Regions from separate parts of the Homo sapiens genome. Here all the other regions are linked to region 1. The links are contacts of gene promoters, found by promoter capture Hi-C in human tissues and cell types (Jung and others, 2019). All regions are on one chromosome and are shown on one strand. Each heading gives the region's core, a stretch centred on a gene start or on the middle of the fragment in contact. The rest is flanking DNA. Distances are from core to core; before and after follow the strand shown. Region 1 holds the start of RAB3B (RAB3B, member RAS oncogene family). Region 2 overlaps ZFYVE9 (zinc finger FYVE-type containing 9). Region 3 overlaps OSBPL9 (oxysterol binding protein like 9). Region 4 overlaps NRDC (nardilysin convertase).

The links. Contacts are between HindIII fragments. The study calls those that stand out against the background at their distance.
Region 2: a fragment that was not itself captured here is called in contact with the fragment with the promoter of RAB3B in region 1 in 2 of the 25 tissues and cell types used here (ovary and spleen).
Region 3: a fragment that was not itself captured here is called in contact with the fragment with the promoter of RAB3B in region 1 in 4 of the 25 tissues and cell types used here (dorsolateral prefrontal cortex, mesenchymal stem cells, pancreas and 1 more).
Region 4: a contact is called between a fragment that was not itself captured here and the fragment with the promoter of RAB3B in region 1, in 3 of the 25 tissues and cell types used here (dorsolateral prefrontal cortex, mesenchymal stem cells and spleen).

Annotation. Positions count from the first base shown.
Region 1 is chr1:51,989,300-51,992,105 of GRCh38, forward strand. It overlaps RAB3B (RAB3B, member RAS oncogene family), which reads right to left and starts at 1,401. Exons shown (of 5, transcript NM_002867.4): 1 at 1,253-1,401. RefSeq lists a silencer at 1,315-1,424. The HindIII fragment of the contact is 14,307 bases long and covers 1-2,806 here.
Region 2 is chr1:52,145,410-52,148,319 of GRCh38, forward strand. The region is part of intron 1 of ZFYVE9 (zinc finger FYVE-type containing 9); the gene reads left to right. All of the region lies in intron 4 of LOC107984956 (collagen alpha-2(I) chain-like), which reads left to right. Among named protein-coding and RNA genes, the nearest start is that of ZFYVE9, 4.8 kb to the left of the region's middle. RefSeq lists an enhancer at 2,452-2,910. The HindIII fragment of the contact is 5,601 bases long and covers 1-2,910 here.
Region 3 is chr1:51,771,966-51,774,954 of GRCh38, forward strand. OSBPL9 (oxysterol binding protein like 9) reads left to right here. Exons shown (of 24, transcript NM_024586.6): 13 at 105-217; 14 at 640-758. Among named protein-coding and RNA genes, the nearest start is that of MIR761, 63 kb to the right of the region's middle. The HindIII fragment of the contact is 3,384 bases long and covers 1-2,989 here.
Region 4 is chr1:51,854,394-51,857,177 of GRCh38, forward strand. All of the region lies in intron 1 of NRDC (nardilysin convertase), which reads right to left. Among named protein-coding and RNA genes, the nearest start is that of MIR761, 19 kb to the left of the region's middle. The HindIII fragment of the contact is 3,238 bases long and covers 1-2,784 here.

The sequences.
Region 1 (2,806 bases), core at 151-2,650:
AGCTTCCAAAGGCTGCTGCCCTGCCCTCCCCAAAGTTGCTTCCATGCTTGGACTACAGAACAGAGTTGGATGACTTTTTCTGTCCACGATTCTCTTATTTTCTGTGATCCCCGGTGCCCGTGTAACAAGGTCCAGTGCCTGGGTCCCCTCCTTGGACTCCTGAGTGGCCGAGACACCGCTAGTGCGTGGACACCACTCCAGCCCCCATTACCTTTCCACCCTTACACCACGACCCACACCTGGCCTCCTCCCCAGGCTGACCCAGCGCCCCACCACCCTATCTATACACTCCAAGTTCTCCCACGATTCCTCCACTTGCAGCCGCCAGACCCTACTCTATTCCAGAGCCTCCTCTCCACTCCTGACCAGAATGTAGGCCCCTGTGTCCATTTCCAAGGCCACTTCCCTGTGTCTCCACCGGCTCCCTGCCCCCTTCCTCTGCAGCAGGGTAGACCCAACCTGGCCTCTCACCCTTCCATTCTCCCAAGCTTCCCGCCCCCAAGCCCCACCCCTCGTCTTCCATCTACAGTTACCCCCACGCCGGTCCCCAGCCGGGCTCAACCTCCGACCCCAGCTATCCATACCCACATCCCCCATAAATGACCCTCTTTCGACCAGACACTGCCCTGCTGCCTTTCTCCTTCCCAGCTATCCATACCCACATCCCCACCCCCGACCCTCTCCCAACCAGACACTCCCCAGCTGCCCAGCGCCCCTTGCCCTCGGCACCTCAGTCCCCTCCAGCTCCAAACGACCCCCGCCCAGCCAGTCCCCTCCCCTCAGCTCCTCACCTCCATGCCTCCCCCCGCACCCCCGCTCTAGCTCCCCTCAGTCCGCTCCCTTCACCGCCCCCTTCGCTGCCCCTCGGCTGCCCGGTACCACCTTTCCGCACAGCCCCACTCCGCCCTCCTCGCAGCTCCCCCGCCCCCCACGCCCCCGTTTCCCCCAGCGATCCCTCACTGCCCTCCAGTTGCCCCCCATCTCTCCTCCCAGCCCCAGCGCCGTCTTTCTTGCTCCCCTCCCGCCCTTGGAGCTCCCCCGGCTGCCCCCAACGTCTGGGAGACCCCCTCGGCGCCCCCTCCCTAGGTGAGCCCCACCTCTGCCGCCGCGGAGCCCCCTCCCTCGCTCCTCCCCCGGCTTCCTTCCGCTGCCCCGCGCTCCTTCTCGGCGCCCGCTCTCGGTGCCCAGCGCCCCGCGCCGGGGATCGGTCCCTGATCCTCCGCGGGCGGGCTGCCGGGGCCGCGCCCCTTACCGCGGACTCCGAGTGCGGGACGACGGGTTCGCTCCCGGACGGTCGGCGGGACGGCAGGACCTGGCGTCGGGAGGGCGCGGAGGGGGCCGGGGCGGGGCGCTGCGGGATGGTCTGGTCCGGTCAGGTCCTCACAGTGGCGCCTGAGGGCTGAGGCTCCCGCTCCAGCACTGCTCCGCTCCGGCCGCATCCAGGCCCCGCCCAAGGGCGGAGTCTGTGTTCGCCCCGCCCCGGCCCTCAACTCCTAGCAGGTGTAATCCGAGGTGACTCAGGACCTCCAGGTCCCCCATGTCTGGGTGACTCTCGTGATTTATCTTAATTGTCATGCCTCGTTCCATTGACTGAACTTACTAGGGTAATTAGAGAGCTTTGATGATAATGTAGCTGATGATGGGTAGCAGTTTTGCCATTTCCAAACTGCTTTCTGGTCCGGTCCGTTCTATGGCTCCGTCTTCACAAAAGCCCAGAGAGGGAGGCTGACTACAAGCGGAAACCAAGCCAGAAACCTGGACGCTGTCCTCTACCCTATCTGTGTTTCCTTCACACCCCACATCCCACCGCCTTAACATATCCCTGCCCTTCCTCTGTGTCTCCATTGCCCTTGTTCTGACTCCAGCATCATCACTTCTTGCTTGGACTAATGCAACAGCTTCCTAATTCCTGCCTTCACTCTCCAATTCACCCTATAAAACCAGGACGTGGTGTCAGCATGGCCATTTCCACCCTTGTACAAAAATTCTTTCTCCTGTGGTCTCCAGTCATACCACCCTCCACCCCTCCTCATCACTGACACCCAATTGTTCCTTATGCATTAAAGATTGCAGCCCCTGGCCCATGGTCATCCTAACTAGCCCCTGTTCTGCCATACTCCTGGTGACTTCGGTAGCTGTGAGACTTCCTGGTCCCATTCATTCTGAGTCAGATACCAAAATCATTTTGACACAAGCCCGAGCAACCCTTTAAAAAATGTCACCATGTTACCATCAACCTTGTTTAAGAAAACTCTCGGCCAGGCACAGTGGCTGACGCCTGTAATCCCAGCACTTTGGAAGGCCAAAGTGGGCAGATCACTTGAGGTCAGGAGTTCGAGACCAACCTGGCCAACATGGTGAAACCCTGTCTCTACTAAAAATACAAAAATTAGCCGGGCATGGTGGTGCATGCCTGTAGTCCCAGCTACTTGGGAGGCTGAGGCAGAATTGCTTGCACCCAGGAGGCAGAGGTTGCAGTGAGCCGAGATCACTGCACTCCAGCAGTGCACTCCAGCCTGGGCAACAAAGCCAGACTCCATCAAAAACCAAACAAACAAACAAACAAAAACCTCTCAATGGTTTCCCATTACCAGGAGGCTGTCAACAGGAGTAGAAAAATGTTCTTGCCTGGCCTGGCCCTAGGAAGTCCCACTTCCACTAGAGGAGGCAGATAGAGGAGGCAATAAATACCCCACCCTCAAATCCTGATATGGACTTCCAGTCTTCCTGAGGTCACAGGAGCCAGCTGAAGGCTTGCTCTAGAATCATTGTCTTTCCCCACACTTCTCCCCCATCTCAGATCTTA
Region 2 (2,910 bases), core at 223-2,722, 160 kb after region 1:
TTTAGCTTAAGTTCTTATGTTCCTAAAGATATGGCGTATATATGTGTGTTTTATGGTTGTTAATTGCATAATGTGGTACAGAGTATGGAGTCAGATGTGAGCAGGAATCCTTACTACACCTCTTAAAGCGATGTGACATTTAGATTCTGAGTTTCTTATGTACTATTGGGGTAACACTACCCCTCCTAGCAAAGTAGAACAGGTTCCATGAGATAAAAGTAACCGAAAGCAATTAGCTCAGTGTTTGTCATGTAGGAGGTGCTCAATAAATGTACATTTCTTTCTTCCTTTTGGGAAAAACAAAAATCAGGCATTGGGATTTCTGCATGACTTAAAACTTGGTTGCTTTATTTTTTTTAGACTAAGTCTACTTTTGGGATTTGGAATTTTTTATGGAAAACAATTTCGATTTTAGTATGTTTTCCATTTCATTTTTAGCCAATAAATTAGTATTCCCTTTATATAGGGTACACTTGTTGCAAATTATTTATTTTCAGAGTTTTACATTGATCTTTAATTTTACTTGTGTATACTTGACCTGCATTATATAGAGCAACATTCTTAGTACAGTCAGATCTCTGTATCTGTGGGTCCTCCCAGCCAAGGCTCAAAAATATCCACACACACACACACACACACACACACACAAAAGTAATCATACAATAATAAAAATAATACAAATAAAAACCCAATACAGTATAACAGTTGATTTGCATAGCACTTACAATTGTATTTGGCATTGTAAGTAGTCTAGAGATTATTTAAAGTATACAGGAGGATGTTCATAGGTTATATGCAAATACTGTGCCATTTTATATAAGGGATTTGAGCATCCACAGATTGTGGTATCCTGTGGGTTCCTGGAACCAGTCCTCCACAGATACAGAGAGACAACTGTATATAATAATCATTGGAAAAGATGTAGTTGCAGGCACTGAATAGAAATAGTTCATATATTTAGTTTTCAAAAAACTCTCAATTTATTAAATTTACTTAAGAACTGTTTTCAGAACATAGATTTTTCCTTATAAACTACAGTAGGCTAGAACTAGATTTTATAGCCTGCCAGTCTTTTCTTATAACCTTGGACAAGTTTGTTACCCTCTTTAAGTCTCAATTTTCTTTTCTATAAAATGCAACTGATAATAGTCACCTTACAGGATTATTGTAAGTATTAAATGATATAATGGGTAAATCAGAGCTATAGTTCAGTCCCATGAGTCCTGGTAAATCCGGACTCTGGAATTGGAAAATATATTTCTCTGAGTTTTGAAAAAAAGAGGTTGAAAGATTGTTAATTATTTATGTAGTTTACTATTAATAAGTAAAATCAGCATAATCTAATTTTGAAGTATTAGAGATTGCTAAATTAAGGAGGAACCAAGGTGTCAGTAGAATTAGCATTTAGTTATGTAGTAGAATACCTTATATTTTATAATGGTAAAATTTATTTAATAAAATAATTTGAAAAGTGCTGTTTTTACAGGTTGAGCATCCCTAATCCAAAAGTCTGAAATTCGAAATGCTCAAAGGTCCAAAACTTTTTGAGCACTGACATGATCTCACAAGTGGAAAAATTCCACGCCTGATCTCATGTGATGGGTCACAATCAAAATGGTCAAAACTTTGTTTCATGTACAAAATTATTAAAAATAGTGTATAAAGTTACCTTTAGGCTATGCGTATAAGTATACATGAAACAAATGAATTTTGTGTTTAGACTTGCGTCAGAATTCTAATCTGTCCCAAATGCTTCTGGTTCCAAGTATTTTAGATAAGGGATACTCAACGCATAAAGTATTTTCTATTTTACAAATTAATTAATACTTATATTTTTCTTTTAAATTATGGTAAATAGCCCATTTACGGAACTGGAAAAGTTAGAACAGTATTATATATTCACAGAGTTGTGCAAACATCACTGCTGTCTAATTTTAGAACATTTTAATCACTCCAAAGAGAAACTTGTACCCATTAACAGTCACTCCCAGGATCTCCCTAATCCTCCCAGCCCTAGGCAACCGCTAATGTACTTTCTGCCTCTATGGATTTGCCTATCGAGACATTTCATGTAAGTGGAATCATACGATATATGACTGGTTTCTCTTACTTAGCATAATAGTTTTAGGGTTCAGTAGCAAGTGTCAGTACTTCATTTCTTTTTATTGCTGAATAATATTCCATTGTATGGAAATACCACATTTTATTCATCAGTTAGGGCTGTTTCCACTTTTTGGCTACTATAAATAATGTTGTTGTGAACATTCATGTGCAAATTATTGTGTGGAAATATGCTTTCATTTCTCTTGGGTATTTATAGGGATGGAATTGCTGGGCCAAATGGTAGCTGTATGTTTAACCTTTCGAGAAACTATCAGATTGTTTTTACAAAGTAGCTGCACCTTTTTACAATCCCACCTGCGTTGTATGAAGGTTCCAATTTCTTCACGTCCTCACCAACACTTGTTATCTGTTTTTTTGATTATAACCATCCTAATGAGTGTGAAGTGGTAATGTAAGGCTCTATCTGCGGTTCATAACTTTTTTTTTTTCAATAGAGGCGAGGTTTCATTATGTTGGCTAGGCTGGTCTGGAGCTACTAACCTCAAATGATCCACCCACAGCCTCCCAAAGTGCTGGGATTACAGGCATGAGCCACCATGCTCCTGGTTAATAACTTTTATTTACAGTCATTAGGTAAATTGTTGAAGCTTTTACTTGCAGATGCATTGCCAGATTCTTTGATGATAGGGAATGTTTTTGGCCTGAGGATAAAAGTTGTAGGCCAGGCGCTGTGGCTCACGCCTGTAATCCCAGCACTTTGGGAGGCTGAGGTGGGCCGATCGCCTGAGGTCAGGAGTTCGAGACCAGCCTGGCCAATATGGTGAAACTCTGTCTCTCCTGAAAATA
Region 3 (2,989 bases), core at 265-2,764, 220 kb before region 1:
AGCATATATATGCATGCATGTAACCAGCTAACTGTACGAGTCTAGCTTACTATGATTCTAAATTGCTTTCTTTAGCTTAAATAAGGTAATTAATGTTTTTATAGTTCTTCTGGATCTGCCTCAGTCCTGACACACAGCAGCTCGGGAAATAGTCTAAAACGCCCAGATACCACAGAATCACTTAATTCTTCCTTGTCCAATGGAACAAGTGATGCTGGTAAGTGACCTTTGATAATTTAACTTTTTTTTCTTTAAAAATATTTGTGGCCAGATGTGGTGGCTCATGCCGTAATCCCAGCACTTTGGGAGACCGAGGTGGGCAGATCACTTGAGGTCCGGAGTTCAAGACCAGCCTGACCAACATGGTGAAACCCCATCTCTACTAAAAAAATACAAAAAATTAGCTGGGCATGGTGGTGCGTGCCTGTAATCCCAGCTGCCAAGGAGGCTGATTCAGGAGAATTGCTTGAACCTGGAAGATGGAGGTTTACAGTGAGCCAAGATCGTGCCATTGCACTCCAGCCTGGGCGAAAGAATGAGACTCCATCTCAAACAAACAAACAAACAAAATTGTAATTCTAGTATCAGGACAGATTGGCCCAATTTAGCACCATTCTAATAAGATCTGCTTTATTTTAGACCTGTTTGATTCACATGATGACAGAGATGATGATGCGGAGGCAGGGTCTGTGGAGGAGCACAAGAGCGTTATCATGCATCTCTTGTCGCAGGTTAGACTTGGAATGGATCTTACTAAGGTAAGACCAAATTTGCTGTAAGTCTGTGTGGGTATGTATGGATTCTCAGTGATTGCGTGGTGAGTGTGCCTGCAAATGTAGTAAAATGACATAATTTCTTTTTATACCTGTGTCTTCTTGTGATTTAATATAGATGTAGATAAGTAAACAAAATTTTATAAATGATGAAATAAGTCAAGCTAGGATAATTTCATAGAGAACAGTGTGTATGAGTTGTATGGATTAAGATTTGGTAGAGTTCTAATCTTAGGGTCAGAGGATCTGTGTTTTCGTCCTACCTCTAATATTAGCAAACCACGCACGGTCTTCAGTGAGTTTCTTCTGTTTCTTCCTCTGTGGACTTCAGGGTTCTCTATGCAAATTGGACACATAGTAACCTGTTTCAGAGGGTTATTGTAAGGATTGGAAGAGGTAGTAAATGTAAAATTGTGACATATTTGTGACCTCTGTCTCCCAGGTTCAAGCGATTCTCCTGCCTCAGCCTCCTTGGTAGCTGGGACTACAGGCACGCAAAATGACACATATTGAGTCATGCAAAATTACCATAGTCTGGATTTGAATTTGAATTTAAACTTGGAGCTCTCAACAGAATGCATGCTTGAATTAGGAGACTGGTGTATGGGTGCCTTTGTATATTCCTGCCACTGTGCTAGAAAACCCCCTCCTTTCACTTAATTCTCACCACAGTACCACAGAGTAGGTGTTATTAACTTCATTTCATCAGGAAACTAAAACTCAGAAGTTAAGTAATGTGGCTGAGTCGTGTTAAGTCATATTAAGTGGCAGACTGAGATTCTAATCTGCTCCATGATTTTAAAACCTGTAATCTTTCCACTACTGCCTTTGTCTTGAAGGCTTGAACTGTATTAACTTTCATATTGATTATTGTTCTGCCGAGCTTTGGGGAGTTGATTAAATTTAGAGTTCTCACTTTTGTTAGGGCAAAATCAATTCCAGTGTTATAGTCTTTGTCAGTAGTGAACTCCTTTTTGTTTTGGATTTAGAGGGCCATTAAGAAAAAGACTAATTCATAATACCTTCAAGTAAGTGTCTGTAATAAAACCTTTTACCCCTAATCTAAGTGAGAACAGAGACACAAGGACAACTTTTATTTGTGGAGCCCAACACACTTACTAGGAATGTTCTAGGTAGGAGAACATTTGCAGGAGTTTGTCCCCGGAATTGCTTCAGTAATCATTAGATTGTACAGCTGCTGGCGTTGTTGTTGTTGTTGTTGTTGTTGTTGTTGTTGTTGTTAGGAAGGACGTTGTTTTCCAGGAGTGGCTCATTAGGCTTCCTGTTGAATCTCATTGGCCAGTATCAGGCATATGCTCGTGCCTAAACCTGCCACTGGCAAGGGGGAGGCTAAATGATTGGTTTAAATGAATCCACATTCACCCCTTGAGACGTGGAAGAGAAGGCCATGGCAGCCCACAGCTGAACCTGAACTGAATCAGAGTTCTTGGGGGTGAAGCATGGATGGGGAGAGGCAACCAGATGTATTTGCCACAATCAAGTTTGTAATTCTTGCCTCACATAATTTTCTCTGCCAAATAAACCATATTTGAGTCCATAGCTGCTAAAAGCTTGTTATATTATAAATGATATTATCATAATTATTTTTTACTGAATGTGTTTAAAATAAGTCATTTTTGAAATTTTTATTGGCACAAATGGCTGTGATTGCCAACAGATTCTGAAATCTTGGTTCCTTTTATGCATTCCAAAGTATTGTTACAATAATGCCTTAAATTTGTGTCTTTTATAAGAATGTTTTCTCACTTCAGATACTTTCCAAAAAGAGTTTGTTTTCCAAATACTTTGTAGTTTTTAAAAATACTACACAGTCACATCCCATTTAACCTCACTCAGTCTTTAAAATAAAAGAACCCTAACATATAAGCAGGGCATGTAATTATCTTCCTTTTCAGGTACTTAGAGAAATTGAGTTAATTTTTCAGGGCCTCCTCACAGCTAAGAAGAGGCTAAACAAGCTCTTGAACCCAGGTTGAAGACAGCTAAACCCAGCTCTCTTCATCACTGTTACAGCAGTTTGACTTAATAGCATGTATCAGTATAGCACTACAAACATTGAAGAAAATCTGTTAAATAAGAGTTCTCAGAAAAATCCTAAGTAGAAGAAAAAAATATTTATTTTTTTTAAATTACGTGTGAAATTAAACTTTTTAAAAATGTTTTTTGGCTGTTCAGTTCCTTTGTCCATTTATCTA
Region 4 (2,784 bases), core at 139-2,638, 130 kb before region 1:
ATCCTCATATCCTAGTCCTCAATCTTTGCCCCAATTCAACAGGAAGTAGGCAGAGCAGTCTGCACCCCAGTACCCCACAAGATTGATGGGTGACAAAAGATGGGGAATTGAGATGACGCAGGGACCCCAAGCATAGAAAAAAGGAAAATCTTCAGTTATTTCAAAGGAAACTTCAGGCACCTAGCTAGCCCTGAAAAATAAATGTGCAACTTGATAAACAAGCAGGTAACAGTAACAACAGCCAAGCTGGCCCAGCATGGTGGCTGACACCTGTAATCCCAACTCTTTGGGAGGCCAAGGTGGGAGGATCACTTGAGGCCAGGAGTTCAAGACCAGTCTGGGCAACATAGCGAGACCCCATCTCTAACAACAACAAAAATAGCCAAGGAAGTTAAGAGTCACAAGAATGTTTGCTTCCCTATAAAAACTAAAGATAATACCTTAACATGTCTCCAGTTGTTTTTCAGAAACCTGTGCCCACACCAAAAGGATCTGCCAGCACAGCAACCTCATATAGAGAGGAACTGGGGACTGAACTCTGACTCCCCTTCTTTGTTCTAAATTTCTTTCTGAGGGGCCTGGAGAAGGTTATACCCATGAGCCAGTGCTAACATTCTTTTCTGCTGATCTCAAATTTTTAGAAAAAGCTTTGCCTCCTTAACCAACTGCAAATCAGAAAATCTTCTACTGTACCTATGACCTATACACCACTGCTTCAAGATATCCCAACCTTTTAGGCCAAAATCAGTGTGTAACCCTCCATGTATGGTTTATGATTTTGTCTGTAACTTCTGCTATCCAGAAATTTACCACTGCCTTTAAAAACCCTTACCTGCAAATCATCGGGGAGGTCAGGATTTAAGCATTAGCTACCTGGTCCTCTTTGCGTAGCATCCTGAAAATAAATGCCTTCCTTTCTACTGCTGCAAAACCTCAGTGTGGTTATGTCCTTATTGTGCCAGGCGAGCAGACCCAAGTTCAGTTCTATAACAGAGCTAAAAGGAAAGAATGTTTTTATTTAAGAAAAAAAAATTGGTATAATATTTGGGTGAAGAAAATTTGTACCAAACAAGATAAAAAATCCAAGCCCTTATAAAGAAAAAAAAAATGAAAAGAGTTCACTGTATACTAATTTTAAGTTTTTATAAAACAATATCATAAACAAAATCAAACAGCAAATTGCATACTGGGAGGAAAAACTAACAACATGTAAGAGTTCCTTCAAATCATTAAGAGAAAAAAACCCTATTAAAAAATAAGCTTAAAAATATGTGCTATACAGCCTGGCCAACATGGCAAAACCCTGTCTCTACAAAAAATACAAAAAAAAGTAGCTAGGTATGGTGACGCACCCCTGTAATCCCAGCTACTCAGGTGTCTGAGGCTGGAGGATCACTTGAGCCAGGGAGGAAGAGGTTGCAGTGAGCCAAGATTGCGCCATGGCACTCCAGCATGGGTGACAGATGGAGACTCTGTGTCAAAAAAAAATAATAATGATAATAATAATATATACTACACACATTACAAGAACACAAGATGTCAAATAAAATGATGCGCAATCTCACTAGAAATAAAAGACAATCAACTTAATGAAATATTTTTCATCCAACAAATTAACTAAACAAAAAATAAAAACAATTGCTATCCAGTGCTGATAAGTGGACAGATTATTCTCACACATTTCTGATGAATCTCAAATGGTATCACATTCTTGTAGGGAAATACAGCCATTTTTATTTTTAATGGAAACTCTGAATACTTTTCATTCAGTAATTTCATTTCTAGGTATTTCATTTCTAGGAAAAACTCTCAAACGGTTTTTCTTTTTCTCTCATACTACTACAATGGTCAGCAACCAAAGTCTTCTGTGACCAAATCCGTGCAATTAATTCTTCAGTGGACACCAACTGGGTGTCCTCCAAATCAGCTCCAACACTACCTGGAAATAGCATCAGATCCCCCAGGATGAGGGCTCAGTCCCCAAGACTGCCCTGCCAACAAACAAACATACCAGTTTCAAGTCCAGACCTCTGGAACTTCTGACTTACCGGCTTTCAAGTTGGGGTTCCCACGACCTCCTCTTTGGGTTTGATTAATTTGCTGGAGGGCTCACAGAACTTTGGGAAACACTTACATTTACTGGTTTATTGTAAAGGATATTACAGATAAAGAGATGCACAGAGTGAGGTATGGGGGAAGGGGCACAGGGCTTCTATGCCCTTCCTGTGCAGGCCACCCTCCAAGAACCTCCACGTGTTGAGCCATCCTGAAGCTTCTGGAACCTAGTCCTCCTGGGTTTTTATGGAAATTTCAAAATATCAGCATTCCTTCCTCCAAGGATAGGGTGGGACGCCCTCTGAGGAGGGTCTTATAACTCCCAATCAGAAAGGCAGGGAAGATTATAGGGTCTTGTCTTGGGGCAGATGAGAGATGGATAGGAGAAAGTCTGAGAAATTCTGTTTCCTGAGGCCTGCCCATGAGACCTGACACACCCAACATTGTAACAAAAAGACTTTAACAAGGGCTATGGGAGTTACAAGCCAGGAACAATGGATGAAAACCAATATATGTAACATTTGTTAAATTAAGTCTAGACACATGAGACCTGACACACCCAACATTGTAACAAAAAGACTTTAACAAGGGCTATGGGAGTTACAAGACAGGAACAGTGGATGAAAACCAATATATATAACATCTGTTAAATTAAGTCTAACCTAAAGCCACCTCCTTACATATTTTAAGTTTGGCCTAAAGGTTTCTCTGTACACAGTGAACTGAAAC